3 separate regions of the Homo sapiens genome follow, and all the other regions are linked to region 3. Evidence: promoter capture Hi-C in 16 types of primary human blood cells and fetal thymus (Javierre and others, 2016). All regions are on one chromosome and are shown on one strand. Each heading gives the region's core, a stretch centred on a gene start or on the middle of the fragment in contact. The rest is flanking DNA. Distances are from core to core; before and after follow the strand shown.

Region 1 (3,950 bases), core at 156-2,655, 3.0 Mb before region 3:
CCTATTGTCAGCCGAAGGTAGGGGTTGGGGGAGATAGATAATTAAAAAGTAAATGTGTAACTGTCAACTATCTGCAAGTGCTAGGAAGAAAAGACTAAAGGGATAGAGAAAGATCGCCATCTTATTTTAAAAAGATGGCCTTAGGAAGGCTTTTCTGGCAGGATGGTGATTAATTTTAAATCAAGTTCAGTAAGAATTTGGAGTGTGCTTGCAGGAAGTCCCTGGGAAACTCTGCTACTTCTCGGCTATAGGATCTTATTCTCAGTTGCCTAAATTCACTGAGCCTAGCCTGTAAAATTCAGAGAGGATGAGGAACATGGATTGTAAACGATAATAACTATCGTTTATGAATGTAATTTTATTATATTATGATTTTTTCTGAATGTAATAACGTCCCCATGCCCAAAGGAAAAAAAAAATTCCAATCTACTGAGGGGGTTCTTGTCACTGTTCCTGGCATTTGCGCTTAGGAATGGAATCGGGACCCTGCCACTGAGCAGGCATCCCCTTCTGCAAATTCAGAAAGTACATGATTGCTAGCTTCAGTTCCATCATCTATAAATCGGAAATAATGTCATGTTGACCACGTAGGGTTTTTGTTGTTAAATTGACATTTATTGAGCTACAGCTATTAATATTTCGGTGCATTGAGCCACGTCAATGCACCGGCATGGTCTTAGACTATGGATTTATGTGCATTTATTTAATCCAAGTAAACCAAGTACTATTTTTAATGGCATTTTACAGCCAAGGAGACCCAGGCACAGAGGGGTTAAATCTAGAGCCCCCACAGCCAGGGATCCAACCCAGACAACGTGGCTGCTGAGCCTGGCAATGTTGTTATGCGATCAGCCCTGTGCCTAGCACATAGTAAGAGCTCAATAAATCTGTATGGTGCTGGTGGCTGTTATCAGTTCTTGGCAGCGGCTGCTCCACGATTTCCACTTGTCAAGAGTATAGGGTAGCCAGTTTATTGGAAGCAGCAGCTAGGGAGCGCTTGCATAGCAACCATAGTTTTCTGCGTAGCAACCATAATGCTCACTTAAATTGGGAGGCTTAGAGGAGCTGACGGGGCCTGTGGGGAAGGGGGAGTTAGCCGGCCACCCCTAGGCAAGCCACTTTGCAGTGGAAACTGCACGCAGCCCCTGCAAGGCGAGCTCTCCCCACCGAGCCTCCCTGTGAGCCGGTCCTCCTGACGCGCAACCCCCCTCCCTTTTGAAGCAGATGGTTCTTCCCGTTGTCCCTGCTCTTTCAGTTTCCGCGCTTTGGAGTCACAAAGCGCGGGGTCACGTGGGCGGGCCGTGCGCTTTGTGACGTCAGCCGCCCCGCCTCTCGGCCCGCCTATCCGCGCACGCCAGCCCCGCCTCGCGCGCGCCGCCCGTGCAATCCCTGCTTAAGAGACCCCGCAGTGGGGCGCTCGTCCGAAGCCAGGCCGCGTCCGCCATAGTACCTGGCTTGGAGGTGTCGCCGCCGCTCGGTGAGAGCCCCCGAGCGGCAGGGGGCCAACACAAAAAGGGAGCCGGAGAAGCCCTAGCCGCTGCCCAGCAGCTTGCGGGCGTGTTCTCGCGGTTCCGGGCCTCAAGGCGACGGAAACGAAAGGCGAGCGAAGCGCGGAGGATCCGGCGAGAAGAAGCGTCAGGGAGCCTCGGCGGTGTCCCCGGGGTCCGCCGAAGCCACCCGGCCGCCGGCTGGGGCCCGGGGTGGTGAGGAAGTGCTCCGAGGCCTCGCCGAGGCCTAGCGCCGGCTTTGTGTCCGAGGCGGCGGCGGCGGCGGGGGGAGGCGGAGCCGGGGGCGGCCTGCGGGAAGGCCTCTCCTCCGCCGACCGCGCGTTTTCGGCCTAGGCCGTGGGGCCGCTCGTGGCCTCCGGGGAGCAGGCGCCAGGGGTTTGTGTGCGGTGGGGGCCTGGGCCTGGGCCTGGGGAAGCTGACGCCGGTCGTCCGGAAGCCAGGAGGAGGCGTGAGGCCGCTCGTGGACTCCGGGCCTAGGCCCTCTCCCCTCAACCTTCTCCCGGGGCCTGGGTCACCCCAATCCACGGAGAGAGAGACCCGCCGGGAGGTGCGGCCGCGCTATGGACCCCTGACCCCGTGGGGTCGCTCGGACTCTTAACGTGTGGACTGACCGCTACTGACTGCACCGCCAATCCCCCCGTCTCTGCCGGCCCCTTAGCATGAGCGAGGGGGACCCAGCCGGGTGACATTGTGCCCGTTGGCGGATTCTCGATTTCCCCTCTTCCCCGTCCTCGTCCTCCTCCTCCCCCATGAAGTGATTCTGAGTATCGGGGGGTCTCTGGATTATTGTTCTGACGAACCCCTGCTTGTGGTTGGGGGGTATTTAATCTGAGGCCTTAGGGTCCTTCGGTGTCTTTGAGTGTTTTGTGTGTACATATTTTGCTCTTAAAGTTTATAAATATACGTATATTGAGAGTGTCCACGTCTCCTCGCTGAACCTTAGGAATCCCTTGGCACCATGTCCTGTGTGCATTATAAATTTTCCTCTAAACTCAACTATGATACCGTCACCTTTGATGGGCTCCACATCTCCCTCTGCGACTTAAAGAAGCAGATTATGGGGAGAGAGAAGCTGAAAGCTGCCGACTGCGACCTGCAGATCACCAATGCGCAGACGAAAGAAGGTAAGGGCCGCTTGGTCTTAAGATATTTGGTGGCTGGAGAGAGATACTAGCTAGAAGGTGCCTGGCAGGAAGCTAACCGCCATTATGTCTCTAGTGGGGACTGTTCGTTCTAGTACTTTGGATACAACTTTCATTGATAGCCAAGGTTTGCAGCAGTTGGCCTTGGAGTTTCACTGGTTTATTTTATTTCTGCATACTTGGGTCATCTGTAACAGGCTAACCCAAAACGTGGAAGCCTGATTATTCTTCTCGCTGTTTTTTAAAATGAGGGAGGGAGGAGAGGGGGATAGCTATCTAGACTCTTTGAGTGCTTGTCTTAGGGCGTTTTCTAACTTATTTTCCATCAGGAGGGCAGGAGAGCCTGTGCAAAGCTTGTTTGTTCAATCAGCAAAAAAAAAAACAAAAAAAAAACCAAAAAAACAATTTTCTAACCTAACAACATTGTGGAGTTTGATGGCAAATTTTATGTCCTGCCTTCCTCCCTCCTCGCATTTATTTATTTGGAGTTGCTTGCCTGTGTTGTGGATAAGGGATCTGAACTTTAATATTTTTGAGGATTTAATCAGTATTGGAATTGTTTTTGGATCTTGAAATGTTCTGATGTCACCGCTCTTGTCTTGTGTGTCAATTCCAGAATTAGTAATACGGCAATTAAGTAGTTAAACTGTTAGTTCATCACATTACTCTTAAGCTTTATCAATTCGGTGAAGATCAAAAGTACTGATTTTTTTTAAAGTAGTAGTTGCTAGATTTTACGTGACTGTTGATACTAAGGTACTGAAAAATAGGCTGCTACCATAGAGTACAAATAAGCCACTGATAAGAATCGTTAGATTCTTTCTCCTTTTCAAAAGTATTTTGATAATATTGGGAACTTAACAGTAGATAAATGTGACAAGCAGTCTTTCCTGACTCTGAACTTGTTTTGGTTTCTTTTTCTCAGATCAGTAATGCTGATGTGTATTTTTTAGCAGTTCGGTGTTCTAAAAGTTACTGATGGAATGAGAAGAAGTGAAGTTACAATTAGGTTAGGGTATTTTTTTAGTCACTAAATTTTTATCACACTTAAGGTGTGACATGGATTCTTTTAGTTGAAATGGGAGGTCCCCCACCTCCAGCCTGTAGTTTAGGTAGAGTAAATCTTGTCATGTAGAAGACCAGTTTTCCATTTACAATGCAGACCTAAGTATAATTGTATTAGGTTAAGGAACAGCAGTGCTGGCATATCATGACTCAAAAATATTAAGGAAGAATTTATTTGCTCAAATGATATTATGTGAAAATACTGTCTGCTTCCCCACCTTTTAAAAACAAGTGT
Region 2 (3,920 bases), core at 175-2,674, 3.9 Mb after region 3:
TGTGGAGCGCAGGTGCTGCAACAGGGTGGAGCCAAGGCTGAGACTCTTGCCGCAGTCCCCTCAGCGGTAAGGCTTTTAGCGGTGTGAGCGCGCTGGTGCTGGATCAGGTTGGAGCTGACGCTGAAAGTCTTACCACACTAGGCACAGGCATAGGGCCGAAGCGATGGTCACACTCGGGGCAGGAGTACGGCTTTTCACCGGTGTGTACCCAGTGGTGCTTAACCAGATCAGAGCCACATCGGAAGCTTCTGCCATAACCCGGACAACGGTAAGGCTTGTCACCAGAGGGGCTGCCTTGGTGGTGAATGAAGCCGGGGAGGCAGGCTGTGGTCAGTCCACATTTCCGGCACTCGCAGGTTTTGGGGCTTGTAGACGGTTGCTCTTGGCAAAGGCTTCTTCCTCCCCAGGGCTAGAGCCTGACCATTTTCCGGGCGGGCAGCTGCCCCGACCACACCAGGAAGGGCTGCTCAGGCGGAGCCACCTCGCAATCCAGGGGTGACCTGGGGGCTCCCCGGGACGCGAATGTCCCGCTCCCCCGCCGCCCCGCCCCGTCCGGATTCTCCCTCGCCTCTTCTGGCGCGGCCGACTGCGCTGCGAGTGAAGAACTCCCCGTTTCCTAGATGCCAGCTCCTGAGCTCACGAGCACGTCCAGAGCGGAGGACACTCGGGACACCGGGGTCCAGCTCCGGAAACGGAAAATTCCACAAGCCCGTCACTCTAGGAAGCGGCAGCGAACGTTCTCGGTAGGTTTAACCCTCTTCTTCCTCTGACCGAGCGAGGGCTCCCCGTCTGCGGCGCGGTCAGGACCCCGCACTTTCGGCCCGGCTCGGGGTTCTCGGAGTCCGTCCCAAGGCCGGGCCGCACCACCGCTGGGGGGCAGCGAAGCGAGCCTAGAGGAGAAAAGGCGGTCCCCGCCGAGTGCACGCCGGGGGCGGGGCACGGCACGAAGGCTCCGTGGTCGGACTTCTGGGCTGTTCGGAGGCCCTGGCCCACCTGGAGGGCCCTGGAAGAGTTTCCAGCGCTTCCCGAGGTAGGCGTGAGAAGCTCGACGCGGACCACATCTCCCTCATGCACCGCCCGCACGTCCCAGGATGCGCTGCGATTAAGGTACTGCCGCGCCTCGTGTGCAAGGACAGACTTCCGGGGTCGAGAACTACAACTTCCGACTTGCATCACTGCGGTGGCGCTAAACAGCGTCAGCGAGGCGGTGCCCGACGATTTCCCTGTCTTCCAGTTCCGCTCCCTGGGATCAGCGGCGAGAAGCGGGGCGGAGTCTGAGGCCCGAGCCAAGATGGCGGCTGCGAAGCCAACCCTCACGGACTCGCTCTCGTTCTGCCTCGCGCAGCTCGCGGCGGCGGCCGGGGAGGCTCTGGGTGGGGAAAAGGACCCAGCGACCAACGAGACACCCCTGAGCCGCGCGCTCCTAGCCCTCCGCACGCGCCACATCAAGGCAGCGGGGGGAATCGAGCGCTTCCGGGCACGCGGCGGGCTCCGCCCCCTACTCGCGCTGCTACGGCGAGCGGCTGCAGCGGGTTCCGCCCCGTCCCAGGCAGGCCCCGGCTCCGCCCCCTCGTCGGCCGCGTCGGGAGCTTCTAGCCCCGCCCCCGCGTCGGGCCCCGCCCCCTCCGCTGTGTCGTCGTCTAGTCCTACGCCGCCAGTGCGCCTGCGCAAGACGCTGGACTTGGCGCTCAGCATCCTAGCCGATTGCTGTACGGAAGGGGCGTGCCGGACCGAAGTGCGCAGACTCGGAGGCATACTCCCTTTGGGTAAGTGCTCCGCCCCCGTTTCCTAGAAAGATTAGGTTTGCAACTCCCTTGCTCTCTAGACCCGGGCAGTCTGGAGTTCTTTGTGTCCTATCCCGGAATAACGTGCTTTGTGATGGCGCATCGCTCCTGTTTCTCAATCTGTTGTGCCCCGTGACGTCACTGCACTCTCTATAGATGAGAGAGAGCCCTCCCAGACCAGATAATTGTAGCCATTATCTAGGAATTGGTTGTTGAGGACTTCTTTCGAAGCTGGACTAGCGGAGGCCAAAGAGTTATTTGGTGATTTTTTCAGATGATTCTTACCGTCCAGTTATGATGTTCATAGCAGACATTCAGTGCCCAACTATGTGTCCGGCCCTGTGCAAGGTTCTGAAGCCCCACTGATGAGCTGGAAGGTGTAGTGGTTCAGAAAGGGAGATCTGCAAAAGTCACCTAACCCCTCCGAGGCTAGGATTCCTTGTAAAATGGGGCAATAATAGCTACCTAAAAAAATCAGAGTGGGGAGAAAACGAAGTACAAATATGGCACGAATATGCAAATATTCTAAGCATGATACGTATTTCAAGTTATTAAAAACTAGCATAAGCTGGGTGCAGTGGTACGCGCCTGTAGTTCCAGCTATTTGGGAGGCTGAGGCGGGAGGATCCCTTGAGCCTAGGAGGTTGAGGCTGCAGTGAACAATGACTGCCTGTGAATAGCCACTGCATTCCAGCCTGGGCAACGTAACAAGACCTCGTATCTTAGAAAACCAAACAAATCAGTAGTCGCTTAGGAAGCAGGAAAAAATAAATAAAAATAATTAAAACCAGCACAGTAAGAACAAATCCTAGCAAAACATAAGCTTTTCTGTTTACCAGCTAAATTGGTGCCTCCTAGTGGCAATGTGTGAAAGCAGTTTACATGTCACTACCTGCCTTCCACGAAATTATGCTAGTTTTGATGACATCTTAACTTTTCGGATAAAGGGAAGCATTAATATATTTAAAATTTACATAAAATGTATCTGGACCATATATGTTTGACAAGAGCTTTGGTTATTAAATAACCCCCATCATTCAGCTACTATTTTTCATCTTAAATATCTTCTGAATTTATCTGCTTCTCTCTCTTCCTACTTCCATTGTGTGCCCAGAGACTGGTATCTCTGTGCTGTGTGATGCCAGTAGCTGGGTTGGTTCAAGCTATTGTCTTTTCATGCTTGGACTATTATGACAGCCTTTTGACTCCCCCCTTCCTATTCTTTCCCCATAATGCATTCTCCCTATGGATGTCAGATTGTATCGTGTCACTCCCCTTCATAAAACCCTTGTGTGGCCCCCAGTGCCTTCACATTCAAGTCCTGACCCCTTGGCCTGACATTTGAAGCCTTTCACAGACACTGTATCTTACCTCTGGGCCTTTGGAAAGGCTGCTTCCAAACCTGAAATGCCTTCTCACACCCCCATCCACCGTGCTTCTGGCAAATACCTTCCTGTGTACCCCTCCAGACCCAGCCCGAGTGTTAGCCTCTTTCTTTTTATTTTTTTGAGATGGAGTCTTGCTCTGTCATCCAGGCTGGAGTGCAGTGACACGATCTCAGCTTACTGCAACCTCTGCCTCCTGGGTTCAAGCAATTCTCCTGCCACAGCCTCCCGGGTAGCTGGGATTACAGGCGTGTACCACCATGCCCAGATAATTTTTGTATTTTTAGTAGAGATGGGGTTTGGCCCCGTTGGCCAGGCTGGTCTTGAACTCCTGACCTCAAGTGACCCACCCACCTTGGTCCCCCAAAGTGCTAGGATTACAGGCTTGAGCCACGGTGCCCTGCCGACCATTAGCCTCTTCTGAAAGCCTTCCAGGCCCTCTCAGGCCACATTCTCCAGGTTATTGATGTGAGAGACAGTAAGGGGTAGAACCCTCACAAGCCCAAACTGTCGTTGCAGTGACCATTCTTCAGTGCATGAAGACAGACAGCATCCAGAACCGAACGGCCCGTGCCCTGGGGAACTTAGCCATGGAACCTGAGAGCTGTGGGGACATCCACTGTGCTGGTAAGAGGCTGTGAGGTTGGGGTCTGCTAGGGCTTGGGGCAGAAGAAAGGCTTGAGTGTCTGTCCTTGTTCACCCTCTGTGCTCCCCTTTCCTGCCCTCAGGTGCTGTTCCCCTGCTTGTGGAG
Region 3 (4,002 bases), core at 7-2,506:
ATTCTTAGTCACTTATTGCCCCCAGAACCTTAGGTTACATAATCCCTCTCTGTGACTCAGTGTCTTCCTCTGTAAAATGAGGACGATAACAGCACCTACCTCATAGGTGAGGATCAAGTGAATTTAATCTCCTGTTTAACGGAGTTTAATCAAGTGAGGATCAAGTGAGTTTAAGCTCCTAAAGCTTCTAGAATAGATTCTTAGAACAGCAATGTGGCCGGGCGCCGTGGCTCACGCCTGTAATCACAGCACTTTGGGAGGCCGAGAGGTGCGGATTGTCTGAGGTCAGGAGTTCGCGACCAGCCTGGCCAACATGATGACACCCCATACCTACTAAAAATGCAAAAATTAGCCGGGCGTGGTGGAACATGCCTGTAATCCCAGTTACTCAGGAGGCTGAGGCACGAGAATCGCTTGAACCTGGGAGGCGGACGGAGGTTGCAGTGAGCCAAGATCGCGCCACTGCACTCCAGCCTGGGCCACAGAGAGAGACTCTATCTCAAAAAAGAAAAAAAAGAACAGCACCTCACCCATGAAGTCCCTGATAAATGTCAGCTTTTAGCATTATCGCTAATTGTCCTGATACGCAGATCTCGAGTTGCCCTAGGCTATCTGCACCGAATGAATATACCATGAGGGTCTGTTGATCTCAGGAGTCTCCAGTCTGGCTCTAAAGTGTCTTTCCTGCTCTAATCCTATCCTCCAATGTAAAGGAAACATTCTTTTAAGCCTGAAGAATATCCCCAATCCTGTTCGCCATTACCCCAAAACACACACAGGGACAAAACGGGACATCACTAGATTCTCCCCCTCCCCCCGCCAACTCCATCGGACTCCAGGGCCCTGCCAGGCCTGAGGGACCCCAGATTAGCCTTACCGCCGTGCCCCAACTCAATCAACAGGCCTCCGGTACTTGCACAGCCCCACTCCATTCCCCCGCCCTGCCCCCAGCTCCATCAGCCCCCGGGCCCTGCGCCCGCCCGCCCGCCCGCCAGGCCAGGCCGCCCGCTGACCGGTCCTGGAGCTGTAGGTCGGGTCGCTCCCGAGGCTCCTCATAGAAGCTGATGCCCGGGTGCGTGGCGAGGGCCCGCCAGAGAAACTCCTGCGTGCAGGGTTCCAAAGGCAGCGGGAAGGGCGGCACTCGCGTCTCCAGCCGGCTCCACAGCGCTGGCAGACACAGGCCATCGAGCCCCTCCAGAGCGACTTCGTCCAACAACGACTCCAGCGCGTCCATTGCTACTTCAGTCGGCGGCGCCCGGGGCGCATGCGCAACGCACCGCCAAGGGCCTTGGTCCATCGCGCCTGCGCACAACGATCCGGGGCCCGGGGAGGTGGGTCAGACCCAGGGTTCGGAGGAGGAGTTCCAGCGCGCCGGCATGACGTCACTCCCCGGGGGCGGGCTCAGTAAGTGGAGCTCCACCGTCATTGGTCCGGGGCCCCGCAGTAACCAGGGGAACTGCAAACAGTGTAGAGGCCGCTTCCGGTTCGAGCTCCCGGAACCGCCGCCTCTAGGGATGGACGGTGAGTGTCTGTGGGCCCCTCCGGGAGGTCGGGCTGTTATTCTCCCATCCCTCCCGACCGCGCTTTGGGCAGAATCCTAGGCCATGAACCCCTGGACCACCACTTCCTGACCCAAGGGGGTCTCCGAAATGAGGGATAGGGAGGCTTAGTGGTCTGGAACGCGGAGGAGAGCCTGGGGGAGTGGTCAGTGCTGTGACCATTCTGCTCGGCTGTGGTCGTGAAGGAAACCGGTACTGGCCGGGAGCTCAGTGAAGGGATGTAGGGTGGGGAAGGAGAAGTAGAGGTCTGAGGAGGGTCTTGTGAATGTTGGGATGTGGAACTGTCGGATTTGGGAGTTGATATGAAAACAAGCTTGATCGTGGGAGTGCAATCGTCAGGTGCTGGGAAAGGGAATTGGTGTGGGGGGTGAAGGGAGTTTAGGAAATACTCCCTTTCTGTGCCTTGGCGTTAATAATAATAGCTCCCTTTAACAAAGTGCTTTCCAGTACCAAGAACTCTGTAAGTACTCTTGGGCAACACCTCGCTAAGCTTCATACCAGCCTTTTGAGTTCAGCGTTGTTCCATTTTACAGATGATGAAACTGAGGCTCAGAGGTGTTAAGGAACTTGCCCAAAGTCAAACAACCAGCATGTAGCAGAGTGAGTGAGAAACCCAGACACCCTGTCTCTGGAGCTGAATTATGGAGCTTGAGATTTGGACCGGTTTTGAGGGTCCCTTTATTCCAGAGGTTGTAAATGCAGATGTCTGCAGAGGAGAGTCTAGTGAGCCGGATTGAGGCTGTAACTGAAAATCAATTCCTCACCTGAAAGGAAAGCTGCTCACCAAGCACCAGCTGATTGTCCTCTTGGGGTACTTCTCAAAAACAGGGTTGGCCAGTCACTCTGAAGGCCAGAGACAGCTTGTGGGCCCCCATTTAGGGATCCCTGATTAGAGTCATGGTATTGACAATTGGAAGCAAATGGAAAATAGGCTATTCTGATATCTCACTTTGCAGATGGGAAGACTAAAGTCTAGAGAGACTGGTAGGGTCTGGGCTAGAGTCCAGATCATTTTTCTAATTACAGCACTGTCCCTCACTTCTCGGGAATTTGTTCCTGGGGAATCCACATTCTTTTTATATTCACTGAATGTAGTGTGGAGAAAATGTTTTTAATTGAACATTCTGTCATATGCTTAAAATATATCTTTTCCCTTTGTACTTTAGAGGTACTATAAAATGTGCTTTACCATTTTGCCTTCTGGAAAGGTCAATGTAATGTTGCTATAGAACATCAGTCCTCAAACCTTTTAAGCCTTGGGACCCCTGTATGCTCTTACCTCAAAGAGCTTTGTTTATTTATATTTATGATATTTACCATATCGAAGATTTAAACTGGGAAAATCTTAAGATGTCCATTAATTAGTTCCTTTAAAAATAATAAAAATTGGGCCGGGCATGGACTCGTGCCTGTAATCCTAGCACTCTGGAAGGCCAAGGCAGGTGGATCACTTGAGGTCAGGAGTTCGAGACCAGCCTGGCCAACATGGTGAAACCTTGTCTCTACTAAAACTTAGCCGGACGTGGTGACACATGTCTGTAATCCCAGCTACTTGGAAGGCTGAGGCAGGAGAATCATTTGAAGCCGAGATCTTGCCACTGCACTCCAGCCTGGGCAACAGGGCGAGACTCTGTCTCAAAAAAACCCAATAATAATAATAATAATTGGCCAGGTGCAGTGGCTCATAATAATCATAATAATAATTGGCCATGTGCAGTGCCTCACACCTGTGATCCCAGCAGTTTGGGAGGCTGAAGTGGGTGGATTGCTTGAGCTCAGGAGTTCAAGACCAGCCTGGGCAACATAGCTAGACCCTGTCTCAAAAAAACTCCAACAACAATAAACCCATTACTTCTGAACATAAATAATATTTTTAATGGAAAACAATTACATTTGCCTCCAAAAAATTAATAGGAAGAGTAGCATTATTTTATGTTTTTTCAAGTTTATTCAATAGAAATAGAAAAAACTACTCTCATTTCTGCTTCAGGATTCAAACTGTTTTTTGTTATGCTGTTTTGGCTGGTGTGTATGAAGAAAATTTGGCCTCATACAAATATATAATTGGAGCAGAGAGAAACATTTTAATTGCCTTTTCAGATAACTGTAGACACTCTCCTTTCATACTATACAAAATTTAGCAAATGCCAGTTTCTTTTTTCTTTTTTTTTTTTTTTTTGAGAAAAAGTCTCACTGTCGCCCAGGCTGGAGTGCAGTGGCACGATCTCAGCTCACTGCAACCTCTGCCTGCTGGGTTCAAGCGATTCTCCTGCCTCAACCTCCCGAGTAGCTGGGATCACAGGTGTGAACCACCATGCCCAGCTAATTTTTTTTATTTTTAGTAGACATGGGGTTTCCCCATGTTGGCCAGCTGGTCGCAAACTCCTGACCTCAGGTGATCAGCCTGCCTCCATTTCCCAAAGTGCTGGGATTACAGACGTGA

Evidence for each region. The method cuts DNA at HindIII sites, captures the fragments that hold promoters and counts their contacts. A CHiCAGO score of 5 or more calls a contact.
Region 1: a contact is called between the fragment with the promoter of RBBP6 here and the fragment with the promoter of GTF3C1 in region 3, in 1 of 17 cell types (naive CD4 T cells). The highest score is 5.2, in naive CD4 T cells.
Region 2: a contact is called between a fragment that was not itself captured here and the fragment with the promoter of GTF3C1 in region 3, in 1 of 17 cell types (fetal thymus). The highest score is 13.6, in fetal thymus.

Annotation. Positions count from the first base shown.
Region 1 is chr16:24,538,161-24,542,110 of GRCh38, forward strand. It overlaps RBBP6 (RB binding protein 6, ubiquitin ligase), which reads left to right and starts at 1,406. Exons shown (of 18, transcript NM_006910.5): 1 at 1,406-2,632. The coding sequence starts at 2,467. RefSeq lists enhancers at 1,069-2,063, 2,064-3,056 and silencers at 1,353-1,402, 1,673-1,852. The HindIII fragment of the contact is 3,955 bases long and covers 1-3,001 here.
Region 2 is chr16:31,458,234-31,462,153 of GRCh38, forward strand. ARMC5 (armadillo repeat containing 5) reads left to right here and starts at 1,268. Exons shown (of 6, transcript NM_001105247.2): 1 at 1,268-1,766; 2 at 3,689-3,796; 3 at 3,898-3,920. The coding sequence starts at 1,292. RefSeq lists enhancers at 398-938, 937-1,276 and a silencer at 1,467-1,816. The HindIII fragment of the contact is 2,362 bases long and covers 244-2,605 here.
Region 3 is chr16:27,548,657-27,552,658 of GRCh38, forward strand. GTF3C1 (general transcription factor IIIC subunit 1) reads right to left here and starts at 1,257. Exons shown (of 37, transcript NM_001520.4): 1 at 1,014-1,257. The coding sequence starts at 1,234. It overlaps KATNIP (katanin interacting protein), which reads left to right and starts at 1,488. Exons shown (of 28, transcript NM_015202.5): 1 at 1,488-1,521. The coding sequence starts at 1,515. RefSeq lists enhancers at 1,154-1,233, 1,244-1,353. The HindIII fragment of the contact is 1,688 bases long and covers 183-1,870 here.